Linked DNA regions of Homo sapiens: region 1 is linked to region 2. Evidence: promoter capture Hi-C in 16 types of primary human blood cells and fetal thymus (Javierre and others, 2016). All regions are on one chromosome and are shown on one strand. Each heading gives the region's core, a stretch centred on a gene start or on the middle of the fragment in contact. The rest is flanking DNA. Distances are from core to core; before and after follow the strand shown.

Region 1 (5,265 bases), core at 884-3,383, 460 kb before region 2:
GAGAGGAAGAGAGGGGTAGGGAGGACAGAGTCTGAGCGGGAGGGCTTTCTCGGCCAGGTGAAGCATTTGGGGCTGCTTCTAAGAGCGGCGGGTTTTAAAAGCAAGGTCTTGGCCAGGCGCAGTGGCTCACGCCTGTAATCCCAGCACTTTGGGAGGCTGAGGCGGGCAGATCACGAGGTCAGGAGATCGAGACCATCCTGGATAACATGGTGAAACCCCATCTCTACTGAAAATACAAAAAATTAGCCAGGCGTGGTGGCGGGTGCTTGTAGTCCCAGCTACTCAGGAGGCTGAGGCAGGAGAATGGCGTGAACCTGGGAGGCAGAGCTTGCAGTGAGCCAAGATCACACCACTGCACTCCTGTCTGGGTGACAGAGTGAGACTCTTGTCTCAAAAAAAAAAAAAAAAAAAAGGCAAGGTCTTAACATCAGGGACTGATGTGACCAGATTTGTATGGAGTGGAGGGAGAGGAAGGGAGGGGGCCCATTGCAGAGGCCCTTGGGGAGCCCAGGCGAGCAGTGCTGACAGCTTCCCCAAAGGACTGGGGCTGTTGGCAGGAAGGCCAGCCCGCTGGAAACGTGCTTGGGAGTCTACGTGGAAAGGGTCAGCGGCCGGCTGTGGGTCGGGTGGAATGGAGTGTTGCTCTGTTAGGTGCCCGATGGTCAGGCCGGGCTCCGAGGAGGGCAAGCTGCAAGGCAGTGGTGGAGGGAAAGAGGAGAGGTTCAGCTTCTCACATAACGAGAGAGGTGTGGGTCTGGGGGCTCAGGCGAGAGACAGGGCAGGGGGTGGAGGAGAGAGGAGAGAGACTTTCAAATCAGTTTCTCTTTTGAACACACAAAGAAGTATGACTAATAATAAGACACTCATGCTTATCATCCAGATTTAATATGTTGAAATGTTGCCGCATTGACTACAGAGATTCTTAATTTTTTCAATTGAAAGCAGATAACCTAAGTAGAAACAAAATAACAGTCACCACCATCTCAGAGTTGGTCCATATTTTGGTACTTTATAATGTTTATAGCCATAGTCTATAAAAAGAGAGGCGCTTTAGCATGAGAGTTGAGCACACAGACTGGATACAGACTGCTCGGGTTGGCATTCCAGCTTCACTTCCCTTGACGAGATGTTTAACCTCTGTGTGCCTCAGTTCCCTCTTCTGTAAAGTGTATTTACTGCCCCTTGGACCCGTCATCTTGGCTAATTTCCTAGATTAGACGTTGGTAGGGAGGCCGATAAGTCAAAGTGGCAAGTGTCAGTGTCACACCAAAGGGAGCGACCAGAACAGAGTAAAGCCCATAAACCGAGTAAAAACAAACAACACCACAGTCCCTCAAAGCTGTAGGCCACGTAGTATGAGGGAAACAGCACCACCGCTGGGGCAGTGTGTCATCAGAAGAGCATTAGGAAGAGGTCCGTATCTTGCAGTTTATGTTGAAGTTTCTGGTAAAGATGGTCAGAAGCGGGAACCTGACACTTCAAAGTGGAAGCTTCAGTTACCTGGGCGCCCAAGGGGAGGTGTTCTCCCCAGTGATGCCGGGCAAATGAACCAACAGCTGGATCATACTTCTCATTTGACATGCTTTTTGGGGGACCTACGTGGGGTTCAGCACTGCGCCGGGCCACAGATTTGCAGGGCCAATGAGGATGTGGTCCCTGCCCCGGAGCCTGATGCTCTAAGTGCTGAGGGTGGAGGGCTTCCCGGAGGAGGTGTTCTCTGAGGAGAGTGAAAAGTACCCGGCAGAGTGGTGCTGAGGAGCCTCTGAGCAGAGAGACTGGGTGTAAACATGTGGCTGGGTGTGAGCTCTGAGCACAGAAGTCACTTGGGGATCATAGCAGTTTTGTTTGTGAGGGACAGTGTGGGGAAGAGAGGCCCCAACGCAGGCTGAGGTCAGTTCCTGTCACAGGTCTTGCATAAAAGTCATCAGGTGGGCAAGAGAGAATCCCTGAAGGAATCTAAGCTGGGAGTCGCAGTGGAGTCGCGCTGTCAGATGGGCTCAGGTTCACACCCCTGTGTTGCCACCTGTTCGCTGCATAACCTTGAGCACAATCACTCTGTGTCTCTGCCTCTTAATAGTATGGTCTGTAAAATGACAGGATAACAAGTTCATGTGGTCACTGGAAGGACTGGCCTTGACACCTCCTGTCCAGTACTGTCTTGATGCCTGCCCCATAAAGTGACTCTGCGATGGGCAAGTGTTATGATCAGATTGGAGGGTGTAAAGAGACATCTTTTGTGACAGTGGAGGGTGGACTGTGCTTTTAAACGGACCCTCCGAAAGCCTGAAGCAGTGGAATTGCAGACAATTTGGTTGGGAGCTGGGGGCAGGGCTTTGAGACTGGCTTGCCGTTAACAACTGGAGTTGCCTTTGCAAGTTAATGCTGCTCAATTGGGCATGCAGGGAATCTCTTTTCACTGGTGGGTATAGAAACACACATTTCATAAAATAAAATGTTTTCACTTAAAATGTGAGGACATTTTGTTCTTTGGAGCAGCCTGTCCTTTTGCTGTTTGCTCTTTCTTCCTGTGGACCACTAGAGGTCAGCAAAGACACGGCGAAAGGGGAACAGCGCTCCCATGCTGGGCGGGCGGGGACAGTGCAGATGTGGTTCCGTGGCCCTGTGAGTTTTCCCCAGCACGACGCTTGGCTTGAGTTGACTCATCTCCATGTTTGTTTGCCAGATGAGCAGGCAGCAAGATAATGAGTTCTGGTGGGATTTTATAAGAACAATAAAGAAGAGGGGTCTGTAGTTTTTCTGAAATAGAACAAGCTTTTGGTTCTTGATCAAGTATGTTCCATTGTAGAATTGATGAGTTGTATCTATTCCTGGAAATGACTTTGGCTAATATGGAAATTTTGAAAGGAACTGAGATATGATTATTGCAGGTTCCTTCTGCTTTAAGAATCCCTGTGCAAATACAAAAACTGATAAATAATACATCTGGATTTAGTGGTATTGGAAAGGGTTTTTTCGTTTTACGGAATTCACTGCTGAGTTCCTTCTCTTTGTGTGCAGGGATATGGATTGACCTGTCTTTTCTTTAGTTGTTTAGGTGAATGGTTTATGATAATTATCTATCTAAGATAATTCACAAATGGCAGCAAATACCTCATTTAATAGCTGTCTACCTGTACATTTATGGGTTGGACATGTGGATTTTTACAAGCAAATAGTGAAGTAGAGGTGAGGTGGAAGAAGCATGGACTTTGGCCCCCCAGATTTAGGTTGAAGTTGCCATTTCCTCACTGTGCGACCTGGAATAGTTATGTAACCTCATTAGCCTGTTTCCAAGTCTATAAAATGGGAATGATAGCTGGGTGTGGTGGGGGGCACCTGTAATACCAGCTACTCGGGAGGCTGAGGGAGGAGAATCGCTTGAACCCAGGAGGTGGAGGTTGCAGTGCGCCGAGATGGCGCCACTGCACTCCAGCCTGGGTGACAAGAGCAAAACTCCATCTAAAAAAATAAAATAAAATAAAATAAAATAAAATAAAATAAAATAAAATAAAATAAAAATAAAATGGGAATGATAATATTCACTTCTTTCTAGAGTTGCTGTAAGTTGTGAATGATAGAATAATGCATATAAAGTGCTAAGCACTGTGCTTGGCTTTTAGAAAGCATTCAGCAAACATGTCTGCCTCACGGCTCACTGGTTGTATCAAAGGGATGCAGGCAGCTCCTGTTTGTTGAGGACCCATTAACAGACAGTTTACAGGCTTGTGAATTTGGTTATTTTCTTTAATCCTTATAATTCTGTGTTTCCAGTACAGATATTCTTGTTTGTAGAGGAGGAACCTCAGGCTAAGGAAAGGTTGTACAACTTGTCCAAAGCCAGACCATAATTTCAGAGGCGAAGGGCCTCTGGGAGGCGTGCTGGTTCTCTCTTTCCTGCCCTCACTCACTTGTTCCACACCAAAGGCCAGGCACTCGGCGCTGTGTCCGTCGTCTGCTAGCCTTGAGCGTTCAGCGGGCAGCAAAACAGACGTGGTCTCATGCTGACTGAGCTTCAGGTCTACAGGGGGAAATGGGTACTGAGCAGATAAACATAAACATAGATAATTGTGAATTTGATCCAAGGAAAAGAACATGTTCTGCCTTGTAGACCTGGGGAATTTTCTAGTCAGGCCTGCTCTAGCAGTATTAATCCTGTAAAATAAGCTCTGTTGGCACACAAAAAAGATGAAAAGGCAGAACCTCTCCATTATCGGATAAGCTGAAACTCATTGATAATATGAGTGATTAAGCAGCCAGCTTGTTGCATGCATTTAGCTAGATGCTTTTCAGATATTGGCCATAATCATCACAACAACTTTGCAAAGTAGTTTATTACGCTCCATTTTAAGGATGAGAAATTGAGGAGAGGAGTTTGCCGTGTCTCCAGGATTGTCTTGTAGATACCACCATTGGTATTTAAACCATTTGGGTTCTAAAATCCAAGCTCTATGTACCACATCAGGTAGTTTCCCTCAAACTACCCAAATGATTGAAATTCACTTTCTTAATTCTTTTTTTTTTTTTGAGACGGAGTTTCACTCTTGTAGCCCAGGTTGGAGTGCAGTGGCGCGATCTCAGCTCACTGCAACTTCTGCCTCTTGGGTTCAAGCAATTCTCCTGCCTCACCCTCCCGAGTAGCTGGGATTACAGGTGCCCGCACCACACCCGGCTAATTTTTGTATTTTTGGTAGAGATGGGGTTTCACCATGTTGGCCAGGCTGGTCTCAAACTCCTGACCTCAGGTGATCCACCTGCCTTGGCCTCCCAAAGTGCTGGGATTACAGGCGTGAGCCACCATGCCCTGCTCACTTTCTTAATTCTTTTTTTTTTTTTTTTTTGAGACAGAGTTTCGCTGTTGTTGCCCAGGCTAGAGTGCAATGGCACGATCTCGGCTCACCACAACCTCTGCCTCCTGGGTTCAAGCGATTCTCCTGCCTCAGCCTCCTGAGTAGCTGAGATTACAGGCATGTGCCACCACACCCGGCTAATTTTGTATTTTTAGTGGGGACAGGGTTTCTCCATGTTGGTCAGGCTGGTCTCGAACTCCCGACCTTAGGTGATCCACCTGCCTTGGCCTTCCAAAGTGCTGGGATTACAGGCGTGAGCCACTGCACCCGGCTCACTTTCTTAACTCTTAATTAGTCAAAAATGGCAAGTGACAGTAAGAGAAAGTGGTAGTAAGGAATTGTTTGAAAAACTAGAAAATAATCTGACTTTACCAGATTAGAGAACATACTCTAGGATCAACTCTCATTGAATCCAACA
Region 2 (5,259 bases), core at 489-2,988:
CAAGGCAGCTGGAGAAACAGCTTGGTCACAAAGAATCATGCAAAAAACAAACACTGAGGAAGTCCATGGGTAGACAGCGGAGGGGCTGGGGTCTCGAGAAGAGAGATGTTGCTCCCGGCGGGGAATGAGGAGATGCTTCTGGAAGTAGTGGCTTTTTTGCGCCATGCCTTGAAGAGAAAGCATTTGTGCACCGGAGCAGAGGTGCAGGGGCGTTCCGGGAAGAAGAGCTGTATGATTTTTTTTTTTTTTTTTACCAGCTTATGCTGTGGTAACAGACTATTCCTAAATGTCAGTGACTATAAGCATGAGTTGACATCTTCTTACATTACATGTCAACGAGAGGTTGGCTGGGGCCTTGGGACCCTGCCCTGCATGACAGTGCTTTTTTTTTTTGAAGACACAGTCTCATTCTGTTGCCCAGGCTGCAGTGCAGAGGTACCATCTCGGCTCACTGCAACCTCCACCTCTGGGGTTCAGGCAATTCTCGTGCCTCAGCCTCCCACGTAGCTGGGACTACAGGCATGTGCCAACACACCTGGCTAATTTTTTTTGTAAATTAGTAGAGACGGGTTTCACCATGTTGTCCAGGCTGGTCTCGAACTCCTGAGCTCAGGCAATCCACCTGCCTCGGCCTTCCAAAGTGCTGGGATTACAGGCGTGAGCCACCGCGCCCAGTGTCTACATGACATTTCTACCCCAGGAGTCAGGTCAGCCAACATCTTGTACTTATGACGGGAGAAAGAAAGGGAGCCATACCACGTGGTGGTCCAGCGTGCTTCTGATCCAGTGTGGCATATGTCACTCTGCTCAGGTCCCGTGGCCAAGGACCTGTGGCCAAGCCTGACATCCACGAGGTGGGGACATTCTCCCATGGTGGCTACCCTGAGCGAGGCCCCGTGGTGCGGGACTCCCTCGGCTGCACGGCGAAGTGGCTCTGTGGGCTGCCTGCGGGGCCTGCCTGGCTGGTTTCTCCTTGTTCCTCCCTGTAAGGTCAATGCTTCTGAGCACCAAAGCCCTGCCTTTGGGCCAGCACCCCGCCCTCAGCCGCACATCAACACCTCTGCGGCCTCTTCTATCTCCTTTTGAATTGTATTATTGCTCTTAGGTGCTCTTGTAATGCTGGACAAATTCTCTGTGAATAAGGGAAAAAATTGAAGCATAAATCATCCGGAGAGTAGCATTTTCTAATTTGGATGTGTGGCAAAACAACTCTGGGTGATTTTTATTCTTTATTTTCAACACAGAATTTCTCTGACAGGCCATCGTCAGCTGCTATAGAGCAATAAATCAGAGTCATCTTTTCCGGGTGAAATGGGCTTAATTTCTCATCCTTTTGTTCGTGTTTCCCTTCCTCTTCTACCGCATGGCACTTGTAATCCTAATGATGCTGTGATGAGATATGATGGTCAGAGCCTCAGACTTATCAGGATGGGCTGACAAATCGTGGAGATCCGCACTGGTCCCACACCCGCCTCTGCTCAGGCGGGCAGGATGTAGATCTGCAGACTGGACCAGCTCAAGTTGATAGCCCCGTAGCATGCAGAGAAAGGAGCACTTTCCAGACCGCGGGGCCCAGAGGCTCAGGTCCAAAGCTTTGTGTGACCTCTGGGCTTGGCTTTTTGTACAATGAGAGCTTTGGACTAGGTGGTCTTCAAGGTCAACTGTAAAATCCTTGACACCACAGACAGGGTTCCAGTGGGCACCTGCCTTAAGGTGCGTGCCAGCCTCTGTGGAAGAGTGTTCATCCTTCTTTCTAGGGCTGTGGTTGTGGGTGATTGCACTAGGAAAGACTTGCAGAAACTGTCATTGTGGATATTTGCCACGTCATTAACCTCAGTCTCCTCCTCTGTGAGATGGGGATGTCAGGATCCAGCTCCTATGGTTGCGGTGAGGATTACGTGTATGCTCGGCTCTACTGCAGCTGGTGTTCAGTGAGTGGCAGTTGTCTATGGTTAATATTCTCATTTTTCAGATTAGAAAACTGAGCCTCATGAGGTCGAAGTGTTTCCCGAGGATCTCACAGCTTGCGGTTATAGAGGTGGGGTTAGAATCATCTAGAAGCTCTTTTCCTCACCCCTTTGGGGCAGTTTGGGAGGTGGGAGGACAAGAGCCAGGGCCTCGGGGTTGCTTCCTGGACAGACAGGGAACAGGCTCCATGACCTGAGGGCTGATTCCAGCAGGGTGGGCACCCTGCATGTGCCTTTTTCCATACCTATGAAAGGGGGCACCACCGAGTGCAGAGTCAATGAGCTAATGCAGGTGTCCAGCGTACACTGAGCACTCAACAGTGTTGCTGTCGTCGTGATTTCATCCTCATAACCCTTGGGTGGCCCCGTTTTCGCCTCCTTCCCTGTTTTGAGCGTCTCCTCAGAGGGTCTCATCTATGAGACAGCGGTGGAATGAGGCTGGGTTTCTAAGGGAGCTCCAGCTCTGGAAGGCCGGTTACTAGGATTGGTTGAAAACGAAATCTCATTGCAAAATAAGTTCCCTCCTCCATGGGGCTAAACACGGGGGATGCTCCTTATTGTATTTGACGGGTCTAGAAGGATCAAGATGGCCTTTGAATATTAATCTGTCACTGGTACCATTTTGTCTGTTTGATGTCTAGGATGGAAAAAAGAGGGGTGTGACTATCTCCTGTCTGATGCGAGCATTGCTGCTTGGAAAGCAGAACAGAAGTCCCTTTCCAAGGCTTGGCTCTAGTCATCGACCCCCTTGTTTTCCCTGTGATCCTGAGCCACCCACCTGCCCTACCGACACCACGGGAGAAGTTGACTGGCGAGAACCGTGTTGTGTGAGCGCGCTGGCCTTGCCACTGCTCACCTTGGCTGTATCTTGTTCACGTTACACATCAACTCCCGGCTGGCGCAGCCCCACTGCCCCACACTATAAGCCTTCCCATCTCAGGAGTTGGGATGGAGGGGTAAACATGCATTAAGATAGTGCGTAGAAGGCTTAAGGGTCTCAGCTCTTCCTGAGTGTCACCCCCTTGGCTGTCACCTCTTAGGCATCTGGGAGGTCCCAGAAATAAGAGAAGTGAAGTTATGCTTGTTCAGCCCCTAGCATATGCCATTCACGATGCTCAATGTTTTCTTTAAATTACCTGTTCATAACAGAGAAGTGTAGAGAATCGGCAGAATCCACGCACAGTGCCAAACACGTATATTGATGGCCTTCTGTGTGTCAGGTGCTGCTCCTGAGGACTGCACCTACAAGGTGGTGCTTGCTCCATTTTACAGGACATGGAAGGGTCTGAGGCAGAGAGGGGCTGGGCTGGAGATGAGGATGGAAAGGTGGGGAGGGCAGACCCCAGAGGCCCATCCCAGCTTAGCCTGCTCTGCTGGGCCTTCCTTGAACACCTGGCCAGCGCTGCCCAGGCTTGCTGGGTGACCAGCCAAGGGACCTGAGTCCACTCCCCACACACCTATGTGTCGGGTGCATGGCACCATGGTTCCTGAAGCAGCAGGGCATATGCAGAAACATGGTTTCAGAAGAGGACAGTATTCTTCTGGAAGACCATGGAAGCCTGTAGCTCAGGAAGAAGCAGCAGGCAGCACGGTAACTCTGTGTGGAGAGAAAACCAAAGCCAAGAACTGAGGCTGCCCGAAGCACAGGACAGCTCAGCTTTTTTTTTTTTCTCATGATCCGCCCACCTCGGCCTTCCAAAGTGCTGGGATTACAGGCGTGAGCCACCACGCTCGGCCCCCTCCCTTTTTTTTTATTGTAAGCCTGGGACCACTGCTGTGTTTGAGAACGGCATTGCACTAAAGTTATTTCAAGGCACCTTGTCTTAACTCAAATGTATCAGACGTTATCTGTTATCCTGGTGACCCCAAGCTTTCAGTAGATTCATGTATTGATCATCCACTCTGTGCTGTGCTTTGTAAGACTTTAGAGACATCGTTGTTTAAAATGTGACAGTCATGGTTCCTACCTGTGTGACTTTGTCAGGGAAAGTGACAGAAAAGTATATAAAACCTAAAATGTAGAAGCTTGTTAATTAATTAATTAATACATTTTTAAGAGAGTGGCTTCTTTATTTTAAACAAATAGAACTAAAAATAATTCCCGATTTCGTGAAGTATTTGCTAGTCATAGATTTTCCACAAGATGGGATTGCCATTGGCGTGCACAGCACCAGCTTGGGCACCCTCCCGCGCCCACGCACACGTCTCCCGTAAGCAACATCGAGGGGCGTGATGCTTGCAAGGCGTTGTCTTAGGGACCGAGGAGAATCAACAGACTGTGATGCAAGGGACTGTGGAGAATCAACGGGCTGTGATGCATTCTTCCTCTCCAAACACCTGTGGTTTCCTAGAGATAAAAATGCACCCACAAAAGGGTGAGACAAGACCCTGTGAGCGCCATACACAGACTGTACGGTGCCTTGGGATTCCCAGGAAGGAACTCTCAGGAGTGGAGAGAGGGCAAGACACTGTGGCCAGCACACAAGCATGGAGATGGCGTGGAGAATGCGTCACCTCCAGGGCTGGGACAGACCTCCCAGCCACGCACTCACCCAGTACCGACAGCAGCTCTGAGGTCGGTCGATGCTGTGGGCTTTTCCATTGTACACACAAAGGCCTTGAGGTCAAGGAACTTCAGTCTCTTGCCAGGCCTAAGATTTGAACCCAGGTGTTTCTTTTGTTATTTTCTTTTTTTTTTTGAGATGGAGTCTCACTTTGTCACCCAGGCTGGAGTGCAGTGGCGCCATCTTGGCTCACTGCAACCTCTGCCTCCTGGGTTCAAGCGATTCTCCTGCCTCAGCCTCCTGAGTAGCTGGGATTACAGGCACCCACCACCACACCCAGCTAATTTTTGTCTTTTTAGTAGAGACGGCATTTTGCCATGTTGGCCAGGCTAGTCTCGAACTCCTGACCTCAGGTGATTCACCTGCCTCAGCTTCCCAAAGTGCTGGGATTATAGGCATGAGCCACTGTACCCAACCCAAACCGAGGTGTTTCTGACTTTAGAAGACACACTTCTCCAGTGGTTTAGAGCCAGACAGTTTTGGTGGGGAGATATTTCACAGGGCTTGTCTTTTGGTACAACTTTATAGAAGGATTATTGTGGAAGAGTAAACCCTACATATTTAAAGTGTATAATTTGATCAGCTTTGATATGTGTCTATACGCAAGGAATTTTCAGCACATTCAGTATAACAAATGTTGCTATCACCCCCAAAAGTTCTTTGTGCCCTTTTGCAGTCTGTCCCACAGCAACCCCTGGCGTGCTTCTGCCGTGGATTAGCTCTTGTGT

What was found. The method cuts DNA at HindIII sites, captures the fragments that hold promoters and counts their contacts. A CHiCAGO score of 5 or more calls a contact.
Region 1: a contact is called between a fragment that was not itself captured here and the fragment with the promoter of C8orf17 in region 2, in 1 of 17 cell types (megakaryocytes). The highest score is 5.2, in megakaryocytes.

What each region holds. Positions count from the first base shown.
Region 1 is chr8:140,391,286-140,396,550 of GRCh38, reverse strand. All of the region lies in intron 7 of TRAPPC9 (trafficking protein particle complex subunit 9), which reads left to right. Among named protein-coding and RNA genes, the nearest start is that of TRAPPC9, 64 kb to the left of the region's middle. The HindIII fragment of the contact is 1,282 bases long and covers 1,493-2,774 here.
Region 2 is chr8:139,927,899-139,933,157 of GRCh38, reverse strand. It overlaps C8orf17 (chromosome 8 putative open reading frame 17), which reads right to left and starts at 1,738. Exons shown (of 1, transcript NR_172942.1): 1 at 1-1,738. All of the region lies in intron 19 of TRAPPC9 (trafficking protein particle complex subunit 9), which reads left to right. The HindIII fragment of the contact is 2,245 bases long and covers 1,595-3,839 here.